2 separate regions of the Homo sapiens genome follow, and region 2 is linked to region 1. The links are contacts of gene promoters, found by promoter capture Hi-C in blood cells and fetal thymus (Javierre and others, 2016). All regions are on one chromosome and are shown on one strand. The core of a region is centred on a gene start or on the middle of the fragment in contact, and the rest is flanking DNA. Distances in the headings are between cores, read along the strand shown. Region 1 holds the start of GCAT (glycine C-acetyltransferase). Region 2 holds the start of CARD10 (caspase recruitment domain family member 10).

What was found. Contacts are between HindIII fragments. The CHiCAGO score rates a contact against its expected background, and 5 or more counts as called.
Region 2: the fragment with the promoter of CARD10 here is called in contact with the fragment with the promoter of GCAT in region 1 in 2 of 17 cell types (neutrophils and M1 macrophages); the score reaches 6.6 in neutrophils.

The regions. Positions count from the first base shown.
Region 1 is chr22:37,806,006-37,809,735 of GRCh38, reverse strand. It overlaps GCAT (glycine C-acetyltransferase), which reads right to left and starts at 1,802. Exons shown (of 9, transcript NM_014291.4): 1 at 1,573-1,802. The coding sequence starts at 1,768. It overlaps H1-0 (H1.0 linker histone), which reads right to left. Exons shown (of 1, transcript NM_005318.4): 1 at 2,304-3,730. The coding sequence ends at 3,607. RefSeq lists a silencer at 1,698-1,987 and an enhancer at 3,416-3,730. The HindIII fragment of the contact is 19,611 bases long and covers 565-3,730 here.
Region 2 is chr22:37,517,460-37,521,189 of GRCh38, reverse strand. CARD10 (caspase recruitment domain family member 10) reads left to right here and starts at 1,775. Exons shown (of 20, transcript NM_014550.4): 1 at 1,775-2,224; 2 at 3,082-3,219. The coding sequence starts at 1,990. The HindIII fragment of the contact is 26,549 bases long and covers 1-3,730 here.

The DNA.
Region 1 (3,730 bases), core at 553-3,052:
CAATCCTCCCACTTAACCTCCTGAGTAGCTGGGACTACAGGTGCGTGCCACCATGCCCGATTAAATTTTTTTATTTTTTGTAGAGATGGGGTCTCATTATGTTGTCCGTGCTGGTCTCGAACTCCTAGCCTCAAGCAATCCTCCTGCCTTGGCCTCCCAAAGTGCTACGATTTCAGGCACAAGCCACTGTGCCCAGCCTAAACTCTGGCTTTGAATCACATTCTACCCAAGGAGGAACTCAGCCCTTCCTCACAGGCTTCTCCTGTGCCTGAAGACCACCACTGACTCCTTATCTGACCCCTTGGTTTCCTTGAGGGTTAAAGAAGAGGGCTGGATCAGACGCCTGCTGCAGTCCTGGAACTCCACAGTTTACTTTGCTGCCAGAATCACACCCCCAAAGGTAGGTGCCTGAGATACCAGTCCCCGAATTCTAAAGCCCAGAGTGAACACAGCTGACCTTAGGAGCAAACAGCCAGAGGGGAAAGTTCACACAGCCTGGGAAAGGCAAAAACAGGATGAGAACTTGGGTCTCCTAATTTCCCATCTTTTGACCGGCTCTAAGCTTCCCCTGAGGGAGAGAAGGGATTACCTGGGACCTCTGTTTTACAAATGAGTGCAACAGCACCAAGGGTTCTATGCCTATTTCCTGGGCAGAAGGCAGCTTTGGGAGCTTGTTGATGATTACCACTCACCTGAGGCCTGACACGAATAAGTCAGGTGTAACCACTGGTTAGAGTGAAATGAGGGAGGGCTGGGAGTGGTGGCTCACGCCTGTAATCCCAACACTTTGGGAGGCTGAGGCGGGAGGATCACTTGAGGTCAGGAGTTCGAGACCAGCCTGGCCAACATGGTGAAACCCAGTCTCCACTAAAAATACAAAAATTAGCCGGGTGTGCTGGCACGTGCCTGTAGTCCCAGCTACTTGGGAGGCTGAGGCATGAAAATCGCTTGAACCCGGGAGGCAGAGGTTGCAGTGAACCGAGATCTCGCCACTGCACTCCAGCCTGGGCGACAGAGCAAGACGAGACTCCATCTCAGAAAAAAAAAAGGAAAGAAAGAAATGAGGGAGACCTGGCAGGGCCAACTCATCATGTGATTTCTGTGGCAGCCCTGGGACCCCTTGCTTGCTATGAGTTTACCCAGCAAGCTGTCCTCTCTGGCCAGTCAGGCAATGTTCCAGCTCCAATATTCCAGCGCTGCCTGCAGCTAGCTGGGGGCTTTTGGGCAAGCCATTTCACATCTGTGGATTTCAGCCTCTTCGTTTGTAAAGTGGAATTAGTCATTCCTGCGTCTAGAAGTTAGCAGGAGTTCACGTGCAGCAACAATTGGTAGAGACCTTCACAAAGGAGCCGCTCAAGAAATGCGGGTTTTCTTGCTGGGCAAATCGCCTCCCTCCGTCAAAAGGGTTTAACCAGGCAAGAGTCAATATTAGGAAGCCATAAAGTCGCCCTGAGAGATGCGAAGGGGAACAGTAGCTAAGAGTGTAGGAGCCGCCCACCCCCACCTCCAGGACCTCCATTCCAGCGCAAGCTCGGGAAAGGTCTTGGAACGACTCCCGGAACGGAGCGTTACCTCCGGAGACGCCGTCCACGCGGATGTGCGGCCCCTGACGGGACGTGATGACCCGCTCACTCTTCCAAGTGCCAGCTCCGCGGATGCCTTCCAGCTCCCCCTCCAGAATGCCACGCAGCTGGGCCAGCGCTGACTGTGCGCGGCGGCCGCGGGGCACCCAGAAGAGTGCGGCGCGCCAGGCGTTCCCAGGCCACATCGCTCCTACCTCGCCCGAGCGCGCCTGCCTGCCTGGGAGCCGTGCGCATCGCGGACGCAGCCTGGTCGCGTGGCCGGGGGCCGGGCTCCAGCAGCCAATCGGAGCTAGGGGGGCTCGCTTAAAAAGGCGGGGAGGCGGGCCTAGGACGGGTGGGCGGGGCCTGGCGGGATCCGCCAGGGACCGAGAGGCTTGACTTGTAAGTTGAGACTGCCGAAGTCCGGATGGCAGAGGGGAGGGAAGGGGGCGGAGGAAGTCGCGTCAGGGCCAAGCCCACCAGACTCCCCACCGCATTCCCACGTACTCACCTCTCGGCCGGAAATGGGGTACCCTCTGGACCCCAAAGGCAGAAGCCTAGAAGCCGGCTAAGGCACGTTCCGCAGCCTCCGGGACTAAGGATTCCTGGCTTCTGTCCAGCTCCTGAACCCTCCCCCGCCATTCTCAGGTGCAAACGCCCCAGATGTCCCCACTGCCTGCCCGCCTAACCGCTCCGCATTCATTCTCCAGTCTTCAAAGTGAGGAAAAATACACCGCTCAGTTTCTCCCTTTTCCAATTTATTTTAAAGTTTTAAAATTACAAAGACAGCAAAATTTTCCCGGCACAAGTAACACTTGTTTAAAAAAGGGGGTGGGGGGGGGACGCGCAAGTGCGCGATTTTTCTATTTTATTAAAAATAAGAGAAAGACAACTGTACAGGTTTTTTCTCCCAGCTCCCGGGTGTGAAACTAAGTACTAGCCCTAGATATGTATATATACACAAACACACACATGCACACAGATCTAGCTCTGTAAAACTACTTAGCAAATCCCAAATCGACTGCAGTAAGTCTTACTATCCACTGCCCGCCCACTCCCCCTCCCCCTCCCGCAGCTACAACTACTTATAATAAAGGACTCAAAAAGAGATCGGGAGGTTTTAAGTGGCCGCAGCCCCACCAAACCAAGCAAAGACACCTCTTGTACAGGAGGAACAAAAATCCAGAGGAAAAGAAAAGTCTTCCTAGGACACAATCCATCGATTGCGTGGAAAAACCTAAGTTTCAACAGGGCACACTGAGGCACTTGGCTGACTCCCCACCCTTCCCCTGAAGTTTTCACTCCGGTTTAACAAGAGAATTTGCTGAAGCCACAAAGATCCCCCAATGGCTACATCCTAGCTGACTGGGAGAAACTATGGCTTCTCCCATCCAGCTGTCACTTGGACCCCACTCCCCTTCCCTAAGAAAATAGGGAGGCCGAAAGCGCAAACTAACAAAAATGAGAAGGAAACTGGGTTTGGGCCCCCACTGCTCACCACTGGGAGGTGGAAGTCAGCCCGGTGGCGGTTTTTTTCCCCCTCCTTCCTTTGCCGGCTGGCTGCTCCCTACCACCTCTCTCCTGCTGGCCAAAGGTTCTGAAACTCTCACAACGGGTGCCCAACTCAAAGAAAACTCACTCACCCTAAAGATATTCCTGCTAACCTCACAATTCCTGGGTTCCCTCTCATCTAGCCAGAACAAACTGCCTTGTGTCTTCTCCCCACCCACATCTACCTTCATGGCAAACAAGCCAACAAAACACACAAGCCCCCCCCGCAAATCCCTAACCCCGTAAGTAGGTTAATAGCAAAACAAAATATAAGTACATTCTCATCATTAGATTGGTTGTTGCTGTCCTTGCACAACTGGTTAAGGAAAAATGAATTATTCTGTAATTTCTGAAGAATCCAAATCCTGTCTCTTATAAAGTCAGAACAGAAGGGGGCAAAAGGTGGTGGTGAGCATCAAGAGAGAAAAAAGGAGAAAATTATTTACAGAAAATAGGAGACAGGAGGGAGTGTCCGCAAGAAAAGACTTCATTGTCACTTCTTCTTGCCGGCCCTCTTGGCACTGGACTTTGCTTTGGGTTTCACTGGTTTGGCCTTTTTGGGCTTGGATGCCTTGACCGGCTTGGCTTTGACAGTCTTGGGTTTTTTGGCTTTCTTG
Region 2 (3,730 bases), core at 526-3,025, 290 kb after region 1:
TCTTGGCTTCTGTGCCTTATCTTTAGGCCCTGCTTAGCTTCTCGATGAAAAAATAATTAACCATAGCCTCATTTTCCAAGGCGTCCATCCCGCTCTGCTGGCCAAGTTAAAAATATTCACGAGGAGTAGGGCTGCTGGTGGGAGGAGCTGCCGCTCTGCGTGGGAGGGCAACCAAGGCCACAGAGAGGGGAAGGACGTATTGAAAGGGAGGTCTGGTGTGTGCCTGGACTCGGGGCTTGGAGAGGACAGAGGCCAGGGGCTGGGCTCCGGCCTATTCCCATTGTGGCCTCGCTGTGTGAATTTGGGCAAGTTCCTTGCCCTCTCTGAGCTCTGCTTCCTCCTTTGTTAATTGAGGAATTTGCACTAGAATTCAGTTCTCCCAAAGCATTTCTTCTGCATGTAAACAGGTGACACCCAAAACAAAAACAAATGTACAACAAATGCAAACCAAAAAAAGGCTGTGGTTAATTAAGTTTGGAAAAGGACACCAGGATATATAAAGTTAAATCTGTTTCTTTACTGCTGGGGCTTTTTTTTTTTTTTTTTTTTTTTTTGAGGGGGAGTCTCATTCTGTTGCCCGGGCTGCTGGAGTGCAGTGGCACGATATCACTGCAACCTCCGCCTCCTGGGTTCAAGCGATTCTCGTGCCTCAGCCTCCCGAGTAGCTGGGATTACAGACGCGCACTACCACGTCTAGCTAATTTTTATATTTTTAGTAGAGATGGGGTTTCGCCATATTGGTCAGGCTGGTCTCGAACTCCTGACCTCAGGTGATCCACTCGCCTCGGTCTCCCAAAGTGTCGGGATTCCAGGCATGAGCCACCGCCCCCGGCCTTAATTTAAGCAGGGCTTTTCAGAGCCTTTATTGATTGAAACCTTAATTCTTTGGATAAGTAATACATATGTCCACGGCATCTAATTCAGAAGTTGTGGAAGGCGATTAGGGAGCTCACACCTCTTTCCTGTACCGGTTGTGCCTCCTCTGTTCCTCCCTGGCAGCAGGTACCTGGCAGCTTCTAATGCATAGCGAGACTGTATCGCATGCACCAGCAGATACCGTGTAGACTCGGCCAGTATCATGGTAAGACACCACCGGCCTCCCAGGCAGGAGCGGGAGTATGGATGGCTAGTCACAGCCCGCCCCCAGCATCTCTGGGACCAACACCTGGAGGAATACCCTTTGAGAATTGTGGGGTCCCTGGTCCTCAAGTGCCACGGGAGTTTGCGTAAGAGGGGAGTTGGCAGTGCTGCCCTGCAGGTTCAGACCCCCATCTTGCAGAAAGCCCCCATGACCTCTGCCCATTGCTGTCCCCCGCGGGGCTGTCCTGCGCTCCAGGGAAGCTCCCGCGCCCGCAGTGCATGTGGGGACCCGAGAAGGGCAAGCCCAGCTTGAGTGCCCGCGGGCTGCGCCGGGCGTGAGCGGCTAGCCCCGCACGGGCGGGCGCGCTGTGGGCGTGGGGAGGCGATGCGCGTGGCCCGGGGAAGGTGTGTCGCGGCGCGCGGGGGGTGTGAGCGCGCCTGCCCGCCCCCGCCCCGCCCAGAGGCCGGGCAGGTGTGGGCGGGCGGCCAGGACCCCGCCGAGCCGGGCTGGAGAGCCGGCGGGAAACAGGAAGCAGGGGGAGGCGCAGCCGGACGGCCGGGAGGGAGGGCGTGCAGACGGACGCGCGGGGTGGCCGGGGGCCGGACGCACGACCCGGGGCGGGCGGCAATGTGGGGAGGCCCGGGCAGCCCAGGAGGCTGCGGGGACGGGGGCGGAGCCGGGGGCGCCACGGGCACCGCCCCCCTGCGCCGGCGGAGCCGCCGCCCGAGTGCGGACCCGGGAGCCCGAGGCGACTGTAGCGTGCGGGGTGAGTCGCGGGGAGCTCGGGGCGCGCCCCCGACGGCGGGTCTGCGGACGACGCCCCGGGGGTGCTTGGCCGCACATCTAGCCCTAGGGAGCCCTGGTCGACCCCCGTGCGCCTCTTGCCCGCAGACCCTGAGGACACGGCCATGCCGGGCCGGGCGGAGGCGGGGGAGGCCGAGGAGGAGGCCGGGGCCGGCTCGGGGTCTGAGGCGGAGGAGGACGCGCTGTGGGAGCGAATCGAGGGCGTCCGGCATCGGCTGGCTCGCGCCCTGAACCCGGCCAAGCTCACGCCGTATCTGCGCCAGTGCCGGGTCATCGACGAGCAGGACGAGGAGGAGGTGCTGAGCACCTACCGCTTCCCGTGCCGCGTCAACCGCACCGGTGAGCCGCGGGTCCCGAGTGGGCCACGACCTGGGCCGGCCGTGCCCTGGGGCGCAGCGCCCACAGCCGTGTAGCGCGAAGCTAGGGCTCTGCTGCCCTGGGGCTCGGTCTCCGCATCAGTAGAGTGGGCCGGCTGGGTATGCCCACCAGCCTGCCTCCTCCCCACCCACCACTGCGCCTTGGCGGTCCGCGTTGCCCACACCGGGGTCAGAGTTTTGTCTCTTGGGGTTCTCTCCCACTTCCTGGGTCCACATTAGAGCAGAAGGTTGGATGTGGCTGCCAGGGCCGGCTGGGCCTGGGACCTCCCGGTCACAGCCGGTGGACTTGGCACCTTTCCTGCGCTCTTTGATCTCCGAGTTCTGTCTGTCCCCTCCTCTGTGCACCATACACTCCTGGGGGAGTCCTTTTTCAAGTGTCAAGATCCGTCTCAGCTTTACGTGGGTCCCCACTCCCACAGGGTGTGCCTTTGAACCAGAACTCAAAAAGGCATGATGGAATGGTCTTTAATGGTGGAATTTCAGGCATGGCCAATGGGAGAAGTATTTTCTTTGCTTCTGGGGATAGAGGGGGCTTCTCTGTGCCATTGAAAAGGCAGGCTGCATTTGCGGGCCGGCATCTGTGTCTGTGGGGGGTGTTGGGGAGCTCTGGGAGCCCAGGAGTCATGAGGGAATGTGCTCCCCTGGCTGTGGCAGAATGGCTCTCTTCTCTTCCCTGATGTGTTGGGACAGGCCCCTGTGTGTGTCACTGGCTCAAAAATCTGGGGAACGTGGGCCTGGAGCATGGTGGGGGCAGAAGCAACCAGGCACCTGGGGAGGCCTTCCCCTAGACCCTGGGTACATCCCCCCACTACTCTGTAGGGCGCCTGATGGACATCTTGCGCTGCCGTGGCAAGAGGGGCTATGAGGCCTTCCTGGAAGCCCTGGAGTTCTACTACCCCGAACACTTCACGCTGCTCACGGGCCAGGAACCCGCCCAGCGCTGCTCCATGATCCTCGGTGAGTGGATCTGCGGTGGATGCTGGCACCTCGGACTCCAGTGCACAGGCTCCTTTCCCCATCCCTGTTAGGGAGGCGCTCCCACTATGCCTGTTGAACAGTAAGGGAAACTGAGGCATGGAGAGGCTGAAGGGGCTTGCCCAGGGCCCCACGGTAGGCTGAGGGTGGGGCTGGGTGCTAGTGCCGTTATTCCAAGTTCAGAGCCACATGCTTAAGATGGCTCTTTCTTCGTGATACTGTTTTCAGACATATGTCTGACATACACAGATGTATAGTTTTTTATGTAAAAAAATACAGAGGCTCCAGGTGACTTTGAATTTTTTTTTTTTTGAGACAGTGTCTTGCTCTGTCACCAGGCTGGAGTGCAGTGGCGCGATCTCAGCTCACTGCAACCTCCGCCTCCCAGGTTCAAGCGATTCTCCTGCCTCAGCCTCCCGAGTAGCTGGGATTACAGGCATGGGCCACCACGCCCTGCTAATTTTTGTATTTTTATTTTTAATAGAGATGGGGT